7 separate regions of the Homo sapiens genome follow, and regions 1, 2, 3, 5, 6 and 7 are each linked to region 4. Evidence: promoter capture Hi-C in human tissues and cell types (Jung and others, 2019). All regions are on one chromosome and are shown on one strand. Each heading gives the region's core, a stretch centred on a gene start or on the middle of the fragment in contact. The rest is flanking DNA. Distances are from core to core; before and after follow the strand shown. Region 1 has its middle 25 kb from the start of LINC00316. Region 2 overlaps PCBP3 (poly(rC) binding protein 3). Region 3 overlaps PCBP3 (poly(rC) binding protein 3). Region 4 holds the start of SLC19A1 (solute carrier family 19 member 1). Region 5 overlaps PCBP3 (poly(rC) binding protein 3). Region 6 holds the start of COL18A1 (collagen type XVIII alpha 1 chain). Region 7 overlaps PCBP3 (poly(rC) binding protein 3).

Region 1 (2,837 bases), core at 4-2,503, 230 kb after region 4:
AGCCCACCTGGCAGCCACTGCAGGTGACCAGAAGGCTAGTCCCAGGCTGTGGGAAGATGGCCCAGGGCTTGGTGGGGAAGGAACATCAGGGGACGGGGCAGGAAGGGGAATGGAGCCCCTCTGGAGGAGCCTGAAGCCCCTGGGGTGGTGCACGTGGAGTTTCTCAGCCAGAGAAGTGGGGGCCAGAGGAGTGGGGGCAGCCACCCACGTCCTGGAGACGGTGACTGACCTGGAGGTGGTGGGGGGGTTCGATTTTTCATGAGTGGAGGAGCTTGGGGCTCCCCAAGCGCATGTCGGGGGGCACTTCCTGGTTCCTTGGCCTCTGGCCTGTGGGTGCCCAGCCCCTAGGACCAGCCTGGAGGTAACATCCAAATGGGGTGGGATTCCCTGAAGGCCACAGGGACCCCCTCACAAGCCTTCTCCCAAGTACCCCCACCCTGGACCCTCTGAGCTGGCCTGAAGTGGGGGTCTTGGGGTGACCGTCTCAGCCCCTCCTCACGTCCCCAACTCCAGGCTGAGCCAGGCGTGGCCTCCTCCACCGTGGCCTCCTCTGCCATGGGTGCTGAGATTGCCCTGCTTCCTCCCACCCTGTTTCTTCTTGAGATTGGGGTGGGCGGCCTGGCTGGGGACACTTGAGGTCACCCCCGGGCCCCCAAGGCCAATCACGGCAGGACTAGGCGTCCTAAGAGGAGGCGGAGTGGGGATCTGCTCACCAAAGCCACAGAAGAGGATCCCAGGCTAACCCGGGTCCTTGCAGACCGATGGGAATCCATGAAGTCAAACAGGGTGAATTTCTAAGACAAAAGCTGGTGTTGTTTATTTTTTGTGACTGAGTCACTCTTCCCAGCCTCTTCCCAGGATGGAGATGCCAGCATTGTTTCTCGCCCCCTCGCCTCTTTCATGTGTGTCCTCAATGCCCCAGTGAGAAAGGGAGGGACAGACAACAAGCTCAGGTCCCAGCCCCCACCCCACCTACATGCCCATTTCTGCAGCTGTCGGAAGCTGCAGTGCAAGTTCCACGCTAGTGGCTGGTGCTGTGAAGGTACCACGGCCAGGAAGTGAGGTCCCAGAAGCAGCCTGGGCACCCCTGGGCGCTGGGTAGAAATGCAGAGTCCCAGGCTCCAGCCCAGACCTGCTGAGTCAGAATCTGCATTTTAACAAGAGCCGGGGTTCCAGGCCCCTGTTGAGGAGCACTCAGGGGGCTTCCATTGGCCCCAGCTCTAAAGAAGTCGTGCGGCCCGGCCCGTGTACAGGTATGACCATTTGGCCAAGGCTGCCCTTCTCAAAGACCTGGGCGGCACCCTTAGACGGCTTCTTAGAGGCCTGGGTGGGCCCCCCCCCCACACCAGGGTCCGGGTGGGCCAGGGCACCTGCATTCCTACAGCACCAAGGGTGCCCAGGCTGCTGGTTGGGGCACACTTTGAGCCGCTCCCGGGCGTAAGACAGTAAACTCCACCCACAGGAGCTTTTGGCTGCATTTGGGCTAAGGATGGTTTGCACGTGTTTAAATGCTTGGAGAAAAATACAAAGAAAAACATGGACAGAGCAGAGTGGGTGCACGGACCATGTGGCCGCAAAGCTTAAATCCATTACTTTCCAGGCCTCGACAGAGCTGGCTGGTCCCTGCTCTGAGTAACAGAGAAAGTAAAAGAGCCCCCCTAAGAGAGCCGGTTCCCTTTGATAACCACAGCCCCTCACGCCCCGGCCTCCCCCACCTCCCCCGCCTCCGGAGATCACACTCGCGTGCCACTGATGCCTGGTGCCTTCACACTTTCCACCTTTGCCAGGATTTTCTCTGGCTACTATAAGCTGAGCATTCTTTAGCATCTATCATTCCCATGTCCACCACTGGCCTTCTGACTTGGTTTCTGGGGTCTTTGGTGATAAAGTTGTGTTAGCTTCTGCTGCAGTCCACTTTATCTTCTCCTCCTCTGCTCCACGTGGGGCTGCGTCTTTGTTTGGGAGAGTTGCTATTCTAAGGTCCGTGTTCTCCTCTAATATCTTTTTAAGTTCCGGTGTATATGTGCAGGTGTGTTACATGGGTAAACATGTCCCATGGTGGTTTGCCGCACCTATCAACCCATCACCTAGGTATGAAGCCCAGCACACATTAGCTCTTTTCCCTAATGCTCTCCACCCCCACCCTCCCCCAACAGGACCTGGTGTGTGTTGTTCTCCACCCTGTGTCCGTATGTTTTCATTGTTCAGCTCCCACTTATAAGTGAACATGCGGTGTTTGGTTTTCTGTTCCTTTGTTAGTTTGCAGAGGATAATGGCTTTCAGCTTCATCCATGTCCCTGCAAAGGACGTGATCTCGTTCCTTTTTATAGCTGCATAGTATTCCATGGTCTATATGTACCACATTTTCTTTATCCAGTCTATCACTGATGGGCATTTGGGTTGATTCCATGTCTTTGCTATTGTGAATAGTGCTGCAGTGAACATACGTGTGCATGTATCTTTATAATAATTTATATTCCTTTGGGTATATACCCAGTTATGGGATAGCTTCTCAAATGGTATTTCTGGTTCTCAATCTTGGAGGAATCACCACACTGTCTTCCACAATGGTTGAACTAATTTACATTCCCACCGGCAGTGTAAAAGTGTTCCTATTTCTCCACAGCCTTGCCAGCATGTGCTGTTTCCTGACTTTTTCATAATTACCATTCTGACTGGCATGAGAACTCATTGTGGTTTTGATTTGCATTTCTCTAATGACCAGCGATGTTAAGCCTTTTTTCATGCATTTGTTGGCTGCATGTATGTCTTTTTTTGAGAAGTGTCTGTTCATATCCTTTGTGCACTTTTTAATGGGGTTGTTTGTTTTTCTCTTG
Region 2 (2,700 bases), core at 107-2,606, 150 kb before region 4:
TTTGGGGCTGGGCCAAGAGGCCAGCATGTTTGCCAGCAGTGCAGCAATGAGCTAATCAGCCTTTTGGCTCCCACATTCCTGGCCAAGAGCTCTTCTGGAATGAGTGCTGTCACTGCACCAGACCAGAGACCTCACGTAGACTGCTCTTTCTTTTCCTCTATGTCACATGCTGGTCCTTGCTTTCATCAGATGATCCCCAGATCCCTTCTCCCCAAGAGAGCCCTGCTAGGCTGAGGCTCTGAGACGTGATGCTAGAAATTCAGCCCAACAAATTATTTATTGAAAAGCCCTGTCCTGGTAGCTGCTTGGTGGGCGACAGCCCCCATCCTCAAGAAGCATGTGTCCCCCATAATGGGAGGCTAATGCATGAACACAAATGTCTTCAATGCCATACAGTGTCAGGTATGCATAATCAGAGAAGAGCACACACTCCACAAACAATGTGGAGTGTCAGAGAGGTGGGCACTTTGGAGAAGGGGAAGGAGCCCCAAGAGGATGGTACCTCAGCCTAATCTTGGAGAGTCTGTGGAACAGGCCTGGCACATAGGGATGTTGCAGTAAGGGAGAGTTATTATTATTTTATTCCCTAGACTCCTGTTTTCTAACTTGTAAAATAGAAAAAAGTTGTTTTTCACATCTCCCAGGGACTAAATTGTGAAGCCCAGGTGAGACAACAGGATAAGGTGCATGGGAAGTAGTGTGTAGGGAAGGTGGATGGGCCAGATGGGGACTCAGCATCTGGTGTCTGATGACTGAGATGTTTCAGCCTGTGTGATATCTACCCCTGGCCACTTATGAGGCTCACACAACAGAGGAGAAGTCTTCTGGACTTTCTGGAAACTAGTAGGACACAGCTGATTCAAAAATGAGCCATGGCTACATGTTCTGTCTCTGTCTTATTAATAAGATAAGTAGGAGAATAATTCCTTTGTAATTTTTTTTTTTTTTTTTGAGACAGGGTCTCCCTCTGTTGCCCAGGCTGGAGTGCAGTGGAGTGCAGTGTCATGATCATGGCTCACTGCAGCCTTCACCGGCCAGGCTCGAGCAATCCTCCCATCTCAGCCTTCCGAGTAGCTTGGACCACAGGTGTGCACACCTACACCCGGCTAATTCTTAAATTTTTTGTAGAGGTGATATCTCACTATGTTGTCTAGGCTGGTCTCAAACTCCCAGACTCAAGCAATCCTCCTGCCTCAGCCTCCCAAAGTGCTGGAACTGCAGGTATGAGCCATAGCATCTGGCAACTTTGTGATATTTTTTAAGTGGTTTGTATGATTAAGATGGAAAAGTTTTTAAAAATTAAATTATTAGTGAGTGTATTCTCCACAAGTTTGTGCTGGAGCATAAATTTAGAAAGATATTTAGAGTATTTAGAGTAATTTTTTATGCCATGTGGTATTCCAATGTACATATGTTCCATAATTTGCTTGTTTGTTTAACTAAAACAGTTGAACTGCTGACAGGCATTCGGGATGTTTCCAGTGTTTCACTATTAGGCATAAAGCTTCTAGGAAATTTCTTATAGATATCATTTGGCCAACATATGTGCATATTTCTCTTGCACATATATCCAGAAGGAAGACTAGTGTGTCATATGGTTGGTGTAGGTTTATTTTAAGTAGATACTTGCCAGACATATTTTCAAAGTGGTCAAAGCAGGTCACAATCAACCAGCAGCATATAAGAATTCAGTTGTTCCACATCCTCACCAGCACTTGCCATTTTCTGTCTTTTTCACACCTGCCTTTCTAAAGGCTATTGTGGTACCTCACTGTGGTTTTAATCTGTACTTTCTGGATCACTGACAGCACTGAGTACTTCTTTATAAGTTACTGGACATTTCAATGTCCCCTTTTGTGAAGTGTCTGCTCAAGGCTCTTGCCCATTTTTTGTTGGTTGCCTTTTTTTTTTTTCTTGAGACAGAGTCTTGCTCTGTGGCCAGGCTGGAATGCAATGGCGCAATCTCGGCTCACTGCAACCTCTGCCTCCCGGGTTCAAGCAATTCTCCTGCCTCAGCCTCCCAAGCAGCTGGGACTACAGGCGTGCGCCACCATGCCCAGCTAATTTTTGTATTTTCAGTAGAGATGGGGTTCCACGATGTTGGCCAGGATGGTCTCGATCTCTTGACCTCATGATCCACCCACCTCTGCCTCCCAAAGTGCTGGGATTACAGGCATGAACCACCGCACCCAGCCTGTTGATTGCCTTTTTTAAAAAATTAACTTGCAGTCGTTTTCATACATTCTGGAGACAAATCTTTTGGTTAATATATGTATTGCAAACATCTTTTCTTGGTGCATGCCGTTTTTCACATTTCTCTCACTTAATGGTCTTCTGATAAACAAAAGTTCTTATTTTTAATAAAGTCCAACTTCTCAACTGTTTCTTTTATAGGTAGGGCTTATTGAGTCTGGTTTAAGAAAAATTTGTTTACCCTGAAGCCATGAAGAAAATATTCTTCCATATTTTCCTCTAGCAGCGTTACTATATTCCTTTAACACTTAGGTCCAATCCAAGTGTGGCTGGTGTGAGACGGAGTCCAAGTTCATGTTTTCCGTATGTATGTCCAGTTACTCTACTTCCATTTATTGAAAAGACCTTTTTTTTTTTTTTTTTTTTTTTTTTTGAGACAGAGTCTTGCTCTAGTTACCCAGGCTGGAGTGCAGTGGCGCGATCTCGGCTCACTGCAACCTCCGCCTC
Region 3 (2,700 bases), core at 42-2,541, 230 kb before region 4:
TGAGTCAGGAGGAAATAAAAATCCTGAACAGACTAATAAGGAATAGTGAGACTGAATCAGTAGTAAAAGCCTCCCAATACAGAAAAGTCCAGGTCCAGGTGAATTCACAGCAGAATTCTACCAAAAGTACAAAGAAAAACTAATACTAATCCTCCAGAAACTACTCCAAAATATCAAAGAGAAGGGAAATCTTCCTAATTCATTCTACAAGGGCAGCATTACCCTGACACCAAAACCAGACAAGAATACAACAAAATAAAACTACAGGCCAATATCCCTGATGAACACAGACACAATAATGCTCAACAAAATGTTAGCAAACCAAATCCAACAGCACATCAGAAAAATAATACACCATAATCAAGTGAGATTTATACCAGGAATACAAGTATGGTTTAACATACAGAAATCAATAAACATGATATATCACATAACAGAGTGAGTGATAAAAACCATATGGCCATCTCAATAAATGCAAAAATGCATTTGATAAAATTCAACATCTCCTCATGATAAAAACTCTCAACAAACTAAGCATAGTGGTAACATACCTCAAAATAATGAAGCCATATATGACAAAGCCACAACCAACATAATACTAGAGAAAAGCTAAGAGTGTTCTCTCTAAGAATTAGAAGAAGATAAAGATACGTACTTTCACCACTCCTATTCAACATAATACTGGAAGTCCTAGCCAGAGCAGCCAGGAAAGAGAAATAAATAAAAGGAAACCAAGTTGAAAAAGAGGAAGTCAAATTGTCCTTCTTTGCTGATGATATAATTTTATCCAGAAAAAACTAAAGTCTCCACCAAAAAGACTTTTTTTTCTTTTTTTTTTTTTTGAGATGGAGTCTTGCTCTGTCGCCAGGCTGGAGTGCAGTGGCGCAATCTCGGTTCACAGGTTCAAGGGACTCTCCTGCCTCAGCCTCCCGAGTAGCTGGGATTACAGGCACGCACCACCACGCCCAGCTAATTTTTGCATTTTTTTTTAGTAGATATGGAGTTTCACCATGTTGGCCAGGATGATCTCAATCTCTTGACCTTGTGATCTGCCCACTTCAGCTTCCCAAAGTGCTAGGATTACAGGTGTGAGCCACCACGCCCGGCCCCATAAAACTTTTAGATGCGATAAATGAATTCAGTAAGTTGCAGGATACAAAATCAACATACAAAATCAGCAGCATTTCCACACACCAATAGTGATCTAGTCAAGAAAGAAATCAAGAAGACAATCACATTTACAACAGCTACACAAAATACCTAGGAATAAATTTAACCAAGGAAAGGAAAGATTTCTATAAGGAAAACTACAAAGTGCTGATGAAAGAAATTGAAGATGACACAAATGGAAAAGCATCCCATGTTCGTGGATACGAAGAATTAATATCATTAAAATGACCATATTGCCCAAAGCAATCTACAGATTCAATGCAAGCCCTATCAAAATACCAACCTCATTCACAGAATTAGAAAAAAAAATTCTAAAATCCATATGGAACCAAAAAAGGGCACAAATAGCTAAAGCAATCCTGAGCAAAAAGAACAAAGCTGGAGGCATTACATTATCTGACTTCAAAATATATAACAAGGGTACAGTAACCAGAACAGTATGGCACTTATATAAAAATAGACACAGAGGTCACTGGAGCAGAATAGAGAACCCAGAAATAAAACCACAAAGCTTCTGGTTTAATAGTCCCATTAAAAAGTGAACAAAGGACATGAATAGACATTTCTTAAAAGAAGACACACAAACAGCCAAGAAGTATGTGAAAAAATGTTCAACATAATCTTCAACAAAGCTGACAAGAACTTACACTGGGGGAAAAGGACACCCTCTTCAATAAACGGTGGTGGAAAAAATTGGATAGCCACATGCAGAAGAATAAAATTCGACCTTATCTCTCACCATACACAAAAATCAATTCAAAATGGATTAAATACTTAAAATGTAAGACCTGAAACTATAAAAATACTTAACTGTAAGACCTGAAACTATAAAAATACTTAAATGTAAGACATGGAACTATAAAAATACTAGAAGAAAACCTAGGGAAAACTCTCCCGGACATTGGTCTAGGCAAAGAATTTATGACTAAGACCGCAAAAGCATAGGCAACAAAAACAAAAATAGACAAATGGAACTATATTAAATTAAAAAGCTTCTGCACAGCAAAGAAAACAATCAGCAGAGTGAAAAGACAACCTGTTGAATAGGGAGAAAATATTTGCAAATTATTCTTCTGACAGAGGACTAACATCCAGAATATAAAGGGAACTCAATCAAAAGGGAAAAAAACAAATAGTCCCACTAAAAAGTGAACAAAGGACCTTAATAGACATTTCTTAAAAGAAGACACACAAACAGCCAAGAAGTATGTGAAAAAAATGTTCAACATAATTAATCACCAGAGAAACGCAAATCAAAACCACAATGAGATGTCATCTTGAACCATTCAGAATGGCTGTTATTAAAAATAGAATGGCCATAATAAAAAAATAACAGGTGTTGGTGAGGATGCAGGAAAAAGAAAATACTTATATATCATTGGTGGGAATGTAAACGAGTACAGCCACTATGGAAAACAGTACAGAGATTTTTCAAAAAAACTAAAAATAAAATTACCATTAAATCAAGCAATCCCACTACTGGGTATCTACCCAAAGGAAATAAAATCAGTATATCAAAGTAGTACCTGC
Region 4 (2,709 bases), core at 161-2,660:
TTCTGCCCACCCGTGGAGAAGGCCAGTACAGGGGAGAGAGCCAGGGCTCCCACAAAGCAGGGGGTCCCTCCAGGTGAGGCGCTCCATCCTGTAGTGTTCCCTTAAATTCTGCAAGCTACCCCAGATCCCCCATTTCCAGCCAACAAATCCTTTTTAAGTTCCTTTGAGATTTGTTCGTGTGGCTTGCTACACTCAGGACTCTGGAAAGAAGGCCCAGGCCAGAGCTTTGGGCAGGCGGCCATTTAGGGCAAGGGCCCTGTGTTGGCTTCCTGGTGGGGTTGCCCTGCTGGTGGGCGGGAGACCAAGAGCACCCCCGCAACACCAGGAGGCAGGTCGCGGATTGTGCTGTCTACACTCCGGAAGGGGTACATTCCAGGGGCTGCTGCCCCAGACTCACCCCTCGCCTGGGACCCGCACTCTTGAGCTGTGGGTACCACGGTGGCCGTCCCCTTCTGTTCTGTGCAGTGGACTTCCTGGCTCCTCCTTAGCCTTGGGGCCCCCACAGCCCTCGGCTTGGCTTCCCTCCCCATAGCCAGGCCCTGGGTAACTCCAGGGGAAAGTGACCCTGAGGCCCCCCACTTCTCCCCGTGTCCTGCACAGGCCTTGGGCTTTCGGCGGTGCTGTCTGCCGCAGCCCCACGCCTTCCTGGGAGAGTGGCCCAGGCCCCCCTTCCTGAGTGTGACTGCGCTGCCGTCTGCGAGGCCTGCGCGGGTCTCCCCCGGGCTGTCCCTGCTGGGATGGGGACTGGTGGCCCCGGGCCACGTCCTGGATCCGGCTTGCTCCTTGGTACAAGCCCGTACGGGTCACGGTCAGGCAGGAGGGCGGGCGGCGGGGTCCCGGGGGCGCCGAGTTCGGGGCCGTGCGGTCCCCAAGAGCAGGCTGTGCGTGTCCCTGTTGGAGCCCCACGAAGGCGGCCCAGGGCCACCCCTGAGGGCGCGTGGGCCCGACCCGCGTCCCGGATCCAGCTTGCGGCCAGGAATGCAGGTGTTCCAGGGTGCCAAAAGGAAAACGCACAAGGCCTCGTCGAGGAGGGGGGGTCAGGAGGGGACCGGGGGTGGGAAGAACGCGGGGGAGAGGGATGGCAGGGTGCCCGCCCGAGGGACCGACACCTCCGCGAGTGGCACCCCAGGATGCTGACGCCGGCGGGGGTGGGGGCCCGAGGGGCGGTCGGGGTCAGGGGGCGGCCCCAGGGGTAGGGCCGCAGCACGAGGGGCCGCGTGACCCCGGCGGTGACCGGGTGGGGAGAGGCCGGCGCCGGGGCTGGGAGACGGCCGTGGGTGGGAGGGTGCCCCGTGGGGACGCTCCTGCCGCAGCGCCCGGCCACGCGCGAGGCCCCGCCCTCAGGACGCGTTCGGCGGGACGGACCCGCCCACCCCGCAGCCGCGCGCCCGCCGCGCCGCCTTGTGGGCGCTGTAGTCCCGGAGTCCGCGTGCGCGGGGCCGGGTCCGGGAGCCCCAGGGCAGCCGCCCCGCCGAGTCGCAGGTACCGGTGGGGAACGGGGCCACGGGGCCGCGTGTCGGGGGCTGCGGGGTGTCTCGGGGCCCTGGGGTGAGTGCGGGGCGCGGGCCGAGGTTTGCAGGGCCCTGTGAGGTGAGTGTGGGGGCTGGCGCTGGGGTCCGCGGGGCCCTGGGGAGGGTGCGGGGCGTGGGCCGGGGTCTGCGGTCTGCAGCCTGGGGTCCGCGGGGCCCTGGGGAGGGTGCGGGGCGTGGGCCGGGGTCTGCGGTCTGCAGCCTGGGGTCTGGGGGGCCCTGGGGAGGGTGCGGGGCGTGGCCGGGGTCTGCGGTCTGCAGCCTGGGGTCTGGGGGGCCCTGGGGAGGGTGCGGGGCGTGGGCCGGGGTCTCCGCGGGGGTCGCGGTGGCCCGGGCGCCTGGCAGAACCGTTGCTGTGCAGCGGGTTTCCCGCCGCTCGCTTTCCGCCGCAGCCTGCGAATGGGGTGGGGAGTCCCGGCCCCCAGCCTGCCCTCCGCGTCATCCTGGGGCGCCAAGTCCCACCCCCGGGTCTGGAGGAAAGCGTGGATCCGGCGTTCGCGCCCAGGCACGTGTTGCTTCGGGACGGGCCAGCCGGTGGGTGAACCCTGCCAGCCACGCGTGGGGCGGGCCCCTGGCACATCTCCAGACCATTGTCTCCTGTGCCAGAAGCTTTGTAGGTGCAACTTCCCCTTGGAGCAGCTGTGGGTGCGGATCCAGCGGAGCAATCCCGAGGCGTCTCAGAGAGAGCCTGGACAGCCGCTGGAGCCTTTCCCGAGTGGGTCCTTCCAACACCGCTACAGCAGGAAAGCCATCCCCCTAGGGTCCTGTCCATCGGAAACTCCTGTCCTGGGGAGTCTGGCCTGCCTGGCCTCAGGACACAGGCCAACTAAGCTGGCCCCGAAATCCAGAATGCATCCAGAGGGAAGGTGGGATAAAGTCCTTGGAGGCGCCTGTTGGCCGCCCTGTAAAGAGGTGGCCTCCCCCTACGGAGACCCGAGGATCCCCGCACAGCCCAGATTCAATCAGCAGAGCCGAGGTGCCTCTGGCCCAGTGCACCTGCCTGCCCTGTCCAGGCCTGGGAGCCAGGCTGCATCTCACTGGCCGCCTTTGCCTGGGTGCCACCTGTGCACTGCTTGTTGCAATTGCTAATTGCTTTCTTTCCGAAGGGGCTTTGGTGGATTTTTATAATTCCAGATAGTACAGTTATCTCTGCTGGACACAGATGAGAAAGAGTGCTTCT
Region 5 (2,909 bases), core at 90-2,589, 180 kb before region 4:
GGAGATTACAATTCAAGATGAGATCTGAGTGAGGACACAAAGCCTAACCATATCAGTATGTCTTGGAGAAGACACACTAAAAACCCTCTGCACACATTTCCTGCCACCGGGTATGGCTTGTTCTCACTTCTCAGTTCCTCAGTTGTCTTCTTTTAACTCTCTCAGTGATGGCCCCTCTAGCCTCCCTGAGAACACTTGCTGTTCTGTCCTTCATCCCCAAGAGCGGCCCCAAGTCACTCGCATCCACTGAGAAGCCCCTTCCCAAACTGCCTCAGCTCTAATTCTGAGGTAAAGCCAACCTTATTGCAGGGTGAGGATTACGAACGGTCAGCCAGATACAGCTGAGCTAATCACACAACATGGCTTGTTCCCCGAATTCAGCCAGGCCAGGGTTAACCCAAGACGGAAATTTCTCACACACTGACCTCCCGTCCCATTAGCTGGGCTCTAGATTTGCTGCTTGGCCCTGCTTAGCACAAGTCCCACACTGTTTCCACTCCTTTATTTTACAGAGCATCTTGATATCAGATGAATAGGCAGCTCTCCACTGCTGTTCTTTTCCAAACTGTTGGCCAGTCTTATGCTTTTATCCCCTTGTGACATTTAGAAGCCATTCATCAATTTTCATAAAATATCCTGTGGCAATCACATTCATTTTTTGAAAAGTGTTCATTATAAAACATAGGACGCAGATGGCATCTGTGAGAATGGCAGAGTAATAACCACTAACAGCTTACCTCTCCATAAAAGCAATGAGAACCCTGGCAAAATTGTCACAATTAACTTTTTAAGAGCTCTGGAAATTCATCAAAGGCTTGCAGCAATCCAAGGATCACTGATTCAAGAAAAACAACTGGACCTTGGTAAGAACAGTGAGCATTGTGGCATTTTAACTTACCCTACTTCCATCCCCTTCCCCCGAGCTGCATCCAAGCCTTGAAAACCAAGAGCCCAGCAATCAATGAGAACCAGCAGCCTGGCTGGCATGGAAGCGGCAGAACAGGACAGGAGTCTTTCGAAGCTGTAAACACCTACCTTTAAAAAAGAGGCAAGATCTCAATTCGATAACCTAAACTTCCATCTTAAGAAATTAGTAAAACAAGAGAAAACTAAACCCAAAGCAAGCAGAAGGAAGGAAACAACAAATACTATGGCAACAAGAAACTAAATAGAAATAGAAATTAAATAGAAATTAAACAGAATAGAAAACAAAACCAAAAGTTAGTTTCTTGAAAAGATCAAAAAATTGACAAATCTTCACCTAGACTAGCAAAAAAAAAAAAGGAGAGAAGACTCAAATTATTAAAATTAGGAATGAAAGAGGAGACATCACAACCAACCTTGCAGAAATAAAAAGGATTATAAGAAAATACTATAAACAATTTTATATCAACAAAAAGCCTAGATGAACAAATTCCTAGAAACACACAGAAACTACAGAAACTGACTCTAGATAAAAGAGAAATCTGAACAAACCTAAAACAAGTGAAGAGGTTTAGTAACCAAAAAACTTTCCACAAGGAAAAGTCCAGGATCAGATGGCATTACTACCGTATTCTGCCAAACATTTAAGTAAGAATTAACAACAACCCCTCACAAACTCTTTCAAAATTACAGACAAGAAAAGGATACTTCCCAACTCATTTTATGAGGCCAGTATTAGCCCAATACCAAACCCAAACAAAGACATCAAGAGAAAACCAAAGACCAATGTCTCTTATGAATACACATGTAAAACATCACAACAAAAATATTAGCAAACCAAATCTAACAATATATAAAAAAGATTACACACTATAATCAAGTGGGGTTTATCCCCAAAATGCAAAGTTGGCTTAATATCCAAAAATCGATCAATGCAATACATCATATTAATGGAATAAAGGACAAAAACCACATGATCATCTCAGTAGACACAGAAAAAGCATTTGACAAATTTCAATATATCTAATGATAAAAACACTCAAAAAAACTAGGAATAAAAGGAAGCTTTATTAACTTAATAATGGATATCTATGAAAAACTCGCAGCTAACATCATGAACAATAGTAAAAGATTGAAAGCTTTTCCCCTAAGATGAGAAACAGGACAAGGATGCCTGCCCTTGCCAGTACAATCAACGCTGTATTGGAGGTTTTAGCCAGGACAATTAGGCAAGAAAAAGAAATACAGGGCATCCAGACTGAAAAGGAAAAATACAAATATCTCTATTTGGAGATGACATGATATTGTATATAGAAAATACTAAGAAATCCACTAAAAAACTAGTATAATAAAGTTCAACAAGGTGGCAGGGATCAATATACAAAAAGTAATTGTATTTCTGTACACTAGCAATGAACAATCCAAAAATAAAATTTTAAAAAATCCATTCGTAATAGCAGCAAAAATAATAAAAAACTTAGGAATAGATTTAATTTTTTAAAAATGCAAGACTTATACACCAAAAACTACAAGAAAGGGAAAGGAATTAAACAAAACCTAAATAAATAGAAAAACATCCTATGTTCAATGTAATATTATTAAGATGGCAATATGTCCTAAACTAATCTACAAATTCAATGCAATCTCTATAAAAATCCCAGCCAACTTTCTGACAGAAATTGACAAGCTGATTCTAAAATTCATATGAAAACTCAAGGGACTCAGAATAGCCAAAACAATCTTAAAAAAGAAAAACAAAGTCAGAAGACTCACATTTCCCAATTTGAAAACTTACTACAAAGCTACAGCACTCAATACATTGTCATATGGGCATGTTCTGGACTGAACTGTATCCCCACAAAACCCATGTGTTGAAGACCTAATCCCCCAAATCACTATATTTAAACACAGGGATTTTAAAGAGGTATTAATAATTAGGATTAAATGAGATCATAAGGGTGGGGCCCTAATCCAAAAGAACTAGT
Region 6 (2,700 bases), core at 104-2,603, 140 kb after region 4:
TGTCTACGACTCAACAAGCAGGTGTTTTCAATACATCTACTTATAAGCTAGCTACTTTTTTGAAAGGTCTATGCTACTATTTAACCTGGTGACTAAGTCGATTGGAAACAATGAAACAAATTATTACAGGAATCCAGACGACATCCCTCCCTCCCCCTTTCCTGCTTCCTCACCCGCTGTAGCAAGCAGGTGTGGAGTCGAGTCGGAGGCAGGCGCTGGCTGCGTGGACCCCCGGGTGGGATTCCACCCGCGACAAGGCACCCAGGCCCTTTGGGCGGGGCTCCCCTGGGGTCCGCGTCCCCGCCGCCTCCCCCGGGCCTCTGCTGGGCTGGCTGGAGGCAGGAGGCCCCGGTTAGCAGGTGGTGGGGAACTGGGTCCCGGGGTTGGAGGCAGGAAGGTCCCCACGGGCCCCGCGCACCGTTTGCCGCGCACGGGAAGCGGCGAGGCCGGCGGGGCAGCGGCTTCTGGGCATTGTTCTCGGACCGCGCGGCGCTCGGTTGGCATCAAAGGGGACCGCGCAACCCGACACCACGGCGGGCGCGGGGACAGAGGCCTGAGGGCGGCGGGGACAGAGGCGCACAAGGCCCGGCCCGCGGCGAGGAGCCTCAACAGGTTGGAAACGCGGAGACGACGCCCCGCGCTCCGCCGCCTTCCGCCCGCGGTCAGTCCCGGGACCCGGCGCTGCGGGGACGAGGCCGTGACGGCGACAGAGGCCGCGTCTCCCGAGACCCCGCGGCCCCGCCCCGAGCCCTCCCGGCACCGACGACCCCGCCGGCCGCGGAGGTTCGGTCCCCGCGCGGGGACTCCGGCCGCTCGCACCGCGCACCCCTCCCGGCCCGGACCCCGCGGGGAGAATGAATGGGCGGGACTCCGGCCACCCCGCCCCGCTCCGTCCGGCTCCGGCGCCTCCTGCGCGCGTGGGCAGGGCCGGGGCTGAACCCAGAGCGGCCGGGGCGGGGGTGAGGGAGCCGGGCGGGGACCCCAGCCAGGGCGGCGAGGCCGGCGGGCACCGGCGCGAACCTTCCCGTCCCGCCCGGGTCTTACCTGGCTCCGCGGAGGCCGCGCGGACCCCGAGCAGCAGGACCAGGGGCGCGAGCACGTCCAGGAGGCGCCGCCGCCGCGGCCATGGCCAGGGGCACCTGCGCGGGACAGGCACGGGTCAGACCCCGCAGGACCCCCGCGACCCCCGCAGGACCCGGCCGAGCCCCGCGACCCCCGCGACCCCCGCAGCCGCATCTTGGCGTCCCCCAACCCCTGCCCGCAGCCCCGGCCTCACCTCGGCGCCATGCTCTCCCCAGGACCGTCAGCGCCGCGGGATGCTGCCTCCTCCGCCGCGGTGCACCCGCTCGGACCGCCGCGCTGCAGCCGCCGCCGCTGGGAGGCCGGGCAGGGGGCGGGCAGGGGCCGGGCAGGGGCCGGGCAGGGGGCGGGGCGGGCGCGGGCAGGGGGCGGGCGCGGGGCGGGGCCGGGCAGGGGCCGGGCAGGGGGCGGAGCGACGAGCAGGGCAAGGCCCGGGGAGGGGAGAGGGGGGCGGGCGCCGCAGCGGACCTGCGGCTGCGAGGACGGGGCGGGCCGGGACCCGGGGGCGGCGGGGACGGGCGAGGACGGACGGGGACACGTCCCGCCCCGAGGGAACCGCCCGAGGCTGCGACCCAGCACAGGGCCCGGGGGCTGCCCCGCGAGGAAGCCCAGGTTTATGCGGAAGGTGAACACCGCTGCCCGCCGGGCTACGACCCCAGCCCCTGAGTCCGGTGGGGCAGCGGGAAGGGGGGAGATTTGAATAGAGTCACCGCGGGGGGGACGGGACGGAGGAGGAAGCCGGCACCTCCGGCCCGCAAGGCCCCTGCAGGGTCCTGCCCCGGCTGCACGGAGGGACGGACGCGAGACAGGAGGGGCGTGCGAGGGCCAGATCTGTCCCCAGGTCCCCCTGTTCCCAGGGCGCGGCCCAGCAGAGCCTCTTCCTCCCCAGTTCCCAGGCTCCTCCTCCCTCCCAGGTGAAAACCCTGTTTCTATTTCTTCAGGGCCAGCATCCTGAGCCCCACCTGCAGGCCCTGGGCGCTTTCCTCCTGGCAGCTGTGCCCCCACCCGACCGGACCGCTCCCTGCAACCAGAGAGCCCTCACACCAGCAACACCCCCCAGCCTGCTCCCTCCTCGTGTGCGCGAAACTCATGGCACTGGCTTGACGGCTTTCTCTGAAACCCTCTGATTCCGCCTGGCCCATCCACACTGTCCCTTCCCGGCCAGGGCTCATCTCCTATGCCTGGACCAAACAGCGTAGTCTCCAGTCTCCCTGATCTCCCCACACGTGGCCCCACCCATCCTCTGAAGCAGCCCCAGGAGGCAGCAGTGACTTCACACTTCTAGTGCCCGGCCCTCCCGGCCCTCCTCTCTGGGCTTGCTTGCCAGGGTCCTCCCAACCTGACTGCTGCCTCCCACCTCCTCTCCGCCCCTGGAGCTCTCCAGCCGCAGCCGCGGGGCCTGCTTGGGATTCTCCTCTGCTGGCATCATCCCTGCCTGCCTCAGCCTTCCCAGGCCCAATCCTGCCCGATCTCACCTCTTCCCGCCCAGCCACCTGGTCGGGTCCCGACCAGCATCTGCCTTCAAACCTGGAGTCCTTCCCTGAGTGCTTGCGGTGCACTGTGAGGAAGGAAATCAATGTAAAGGATTATGACCCACATTTTTTAAAAATAAAAAGATTA
Region 7 (2,823 bases), core at 44-2,543, 200 kb before region 4:
TATACATACATATGTATATATATATATAAAACATATACACATTTTTACCTATATACCTAAAAACTTGCTTAAAACTGACTGTTTCCTAAGCAAAAAACCATTGGTGTATAAGAAAATGTGTATAAAATCAATAACCATGGTAGAAATTATATAGACACTAAAAAATCAGTCTCCAAAATAGGCTCCAGGCTTAGCAGCTTTGATAGACGAATTCTATTAAAGGTAGAATTCTATCGAAGGCTGATAACATTTGCATTTCTAAACAGAAGACAGAAAAATTTGTTATTTAAAGGATAGAAAAACATGGGACAATTCTCAAATCATGTTATGAAAGCAAGCTATCATTTATTGCCAAAATCATATAAAAATTAGAAAAAAAAGAACCTTATAGAGCACTATCACCCTAGCCATAACCCTCACGATAACCCTAACAGTAACCCTAATCCTAACCTTTACAATAACTCGAACACTAACGGTAACTCCAACCCTTATGCTAGCCTTAACTCTAGCCCTAACCCTATTATTAACCCTTATTCTAGTCCCAATAAGATACTGGGAGCATATTATAATTGGAAGAGCTATGGCCTAACGGGGTTTATTCCAAGAATCAACACTTGGAATGTCAGGAACAGAATTCACTCCATTGAGAGACAAAAGCAGGAATCATACAACCACCTAAATAGTAGCAATGAACACATTTAGTGAAATGCAACTTTTTTGATTTTAAAAAACACGTAACTTAATAAATAGCAATAAAAGAAAACTTCTGTAGCTTAATGAAGAATATATACCAGAGAGCTACAGGGAGCATACTTCATGGTGAATGTTGGGTCAAGGTAAAAATAAGTCAAATTTCACCTGAAAACCCTTTTGCAAATAAAACCATTTTAACATGTGACCACATTCAAATATATAAAAACTGATAGTTTTCCTATATAATGTTAAATATTTGATAAATGCAATGGGAAAAATCCCAATTACAATAACCAAATAACACAAATTAGTTGGAAAAAAATTTGAAAGATAAAACCTACAGCAAGAAAGCTATGAAATGTAACTGAAGGCTAATAACAGAATAAATGGAAAGACAGATTCCCTTTCTATATAGGAAACTATTTAAATATTGTTAAAATGTCAGCTGTTTATAATTTAAATTATAGATCTGATCCATTTGAAAAGAAACCTCAATATGATTAACTTTTTAAACTTGAAAATCATTCTAAAGTTCATTTAGAAAGTAGGTAGCCAAGAATAACCAAAATATTTTTTGAAATATTGGTTACCTTTATCAGATATGGAAATATATCGTGAAACTAAAATAATTAAAACAGTGTACCAGCACTAGAACAAAGAGGTCAATTAGAGAATTCAGAAACAGACACTAAAATACACAATATTTTCATATGTGGTACACATACATAAAAAGTTGCAGCATGAATCATTAGAAAAATGAAGTATTTTGAATAAATGGTGTTTCTAATATAAGAAAAAATAACTTAGATCTTCACCTAAGAACATACACCTAATTAAATCCCAAGAAAAGGATTTTCTAAATGTAAACACAATAAGAGACGACATCACAACGGAAAATACTGAGCGAGCTACCCAAAATGCTACAGATCAGATGAAAAAGTGCACGACTCAACTGGGGAAAATTCCTCCCACAGACATAAAAGCAGAGTATCTTCAATAATGCAAGAATGCTTATGAGCATGGGGGAAAACGACATTATTGTTAAAGAGCTAAGCCATGTGTGTTCAGTGTGCTTCTGCATTTCGAGATGGAGACGTATGCAGTACCTGGTGTGTCAGGATACAACAGCACAGGCACTCTGGTACAGCCTTGTTCAAGTACAAACTTGCACTTTTGAGATCAACCTGGCAATTACACATTATGCCTCTTTTAAATGTCCATGTCCTCTGACCCAGGAATTCTGTAGGTGTGAACACTGCCTACAAAAGAGAGGAAGCTGCTGTGGATTTATGCACAAGGGTGTTTACCTCGTATTATGGATATTAGTGGAAAATCAGAAAAAATAAACAAAAAGGGAATAATCCAATAAATGATACCTAGATCCACAACATGGGAAACCATGCAACCTTCTAAAAATAATGTTCTCAAACTAGGTAAGGTCGAACACTTTGCAGAATACTATTCAGTTAAAAAGCAGGGCACGAAAGTGTGTACTGAATGCCTGAGGCAGACAGTCTGGACTGGAATTTCCCCACCGCCCCCAGGGCACTGGGCAAGAGGCGCTCACCAGGCCTAACGCTGCAGAGCTCAAGCAACCTGAGGAGAAAGATCTGCCTCAGATTCACCAAGCCAGAGGCCGGGCCTCTGAAGTGGAGAGGACCAGAGGGCAAGGGCAGTGGAAGTCTGCCCTGGCAGGAGCAGGGCAAGCAAGGGAGCTCAGGGCCTGAGGTTCATCAATTTTTTATAAAATAATATTTGCCATATAACCTTTAAAATTTTTTATTTTTAATAAAACTATAAATATACACAGTTTTTAAAAGCAAATAATTCGATAAAGCTTATGAAAAGCAGTGGCCCTACCCCTCCCTTGCCCCCTACATCACAATCCTTCCCTGAGCTCTTAGCCTCTTTTGGCATTTCTTTATCTCCATATTTCTAATTACTGAGTTTGTATTGCTATTCTTGATCTTACAACTTTATGTATCAGCTGTTAGCTTCCTGCTATAAAAGATGAGCACTGACTCTCCTGAGCCCCTACCTCGCCCTCCTCCCCACTTTCCAGGACTCCCCTCGCTGGCTGTGCACCTGGTACCCACACCTGATGCTGCAGCTCCCTTCTTGCACAATGTT

The links. Contacts are between HindIII fragments. The study calls those that stand out against the background at their distance.
Region 1: a contact is called between a fragment that was not itself captured here and the fragment with the promoter of SLC19A1 in region 4, in 4 of the 25 tissues and cell types used here (H1 embryonic stem cells, dorsolateral prefrontal cortex, mesendoderm cells and 1 more).
Region 2: a fragment that was not itself captured here is called in contact with the fragment with the promoter of SLC19A1 in region 4 in 1 of the 25 tissues and cell types used here (H1 embryonic stem cells).
Region 3: a contact is called between a fragment that was not itself captured here and the fragment with the promoter of SLC19A1 in region 4, in 4 of the 25 tissues and cell types used here (IMR-90 fibroblasts, dorsolateral prefrontal cortex, lymphoblastoid cells and 1 more).
Region 5: a contact is called between a fragment that was not itself captured here and the fragment with the promoter of SLC19A1 in region 4, in 2 of the 25 tissues and cell types used here (lymphoblastoid cells and mesendoderm cells).
Region 6: the fragment with the promoter of COL18A1 here is called in contact with the fragment with the promoter of SLC19A1 in region 4 in 2 of the 25 tissues and cell types used here (adrenal gland and thymus).
Region 7: a contact is called between a fragment that was not itself captured here and the fragment with the promoter of SLC19A1 in region 4, in 1 of the 25 tissues and cell types used here (aorta).

What each region holds. Positions count from the first base shown.
Region 1 is chr21:45,315,721-45,318,557 of GRCh38, reverse strand. No RefSeq gene overlaps it. Among named protein-coding and RNA genes, the nearest start is that of LINC00316, 25 kb to the left of the region's middle. RefSeq lists an enhancer at 1-34. The HindIII fragment of the contact is 7,844 bases long and covers 1-2,837 here.
Region 2 is chr21:45,696,006-45,698,705 of GRCh38, reverse strand. All of the region lies in intron 2 of PCBP3 (poly(rC) binding protein 3), which reads right to left. Among named protein-coding and RNA genes, the nearest start is that of PCBP3, 54 kb to the right of the region's middle. The HindIII fragment of the contact is 5,398 bases long and covers 1-2,700 here.
Region 3 is chr21:45,772,531-45,775,230 of GRCh38, reverse strand. All of the region lies in intron 4 of PCBP3 (poly(rC) binding protein 3), which reads right to left. Among named protein-coding and RNA genes, the nearest start is that of PCBP3-AS1, 63 kb to the left of the region's middle. The HindIII fragment of the contact is 3,374 bases long and covers 1-2,700 here.
Region 4 is chr21:45,541,141-45,543,849 of GRCh38, reverse strand. SLC19A1 (solute carrier family 19 member 1) reads left to right here and starts at 1,410. Exons shown (of 6, transcript NM_194255.4): 1 at 1,410-1,482. RefSeq lists silencers at 1,137-1,216, 1,257-1,566, 1,917-1,976 and an enhancer at 770-1,282. The HindIII fragment of the contact is 13,138 bases long and covers 1-2,709 here.
Region 5 is chr21:45,716,582-45,719,490 of GRCh38, reverse strand. All of the region lies in intron 2 of PCBP3 (poly(rC) binding protein 3), which reads right to left. Among named protein-coding and RNA genes, the nearest start is that of PCBP3, 74 kb to the right of the region's middle. The HindIII fragment of the contact is 3,124 bases long and covers 1-2,901 here.
Region 6 is chr21:45,403,818-45,406,517 of GRCh38, reverse strand. COL18A1 (collagen type XVIII alpha 1 chain) reads right to left here and starts at 1,353. Exons shown (of 42, transcript NM_001379500.1): 1 at 1,277-1,353; 2 at 1,045-1,139. The coding sequence starts at 1,287. It overlaps BNAT1 (breast cancer associated ESR1 regulating natural antisense transcript 1), which reads left to right and starts at 156. Exons shown (of 2, transcript NR_183526.1): 1 at 156-351; 2 at 2,022-2,700. RefSeq lists an enhancer at 1,498-2,198. The HindIII fragment of the contact is 38,297 bases long and covers 1-2,700 here.
Region 7 is chr21:45,741,324-45,744,146 of GRCh38, reverse strand. The region is part of intron 3 of PCBP3 (poly(rC) binding protein 3); the gene reads right to left. Among named protein-coding and RNA genes, the nearest start is that of PCBP3-AS1, 94 kb to the left of the region's middle. The HindIII fragment of the contact is 8,727 bases long and covers 1-2,823 here.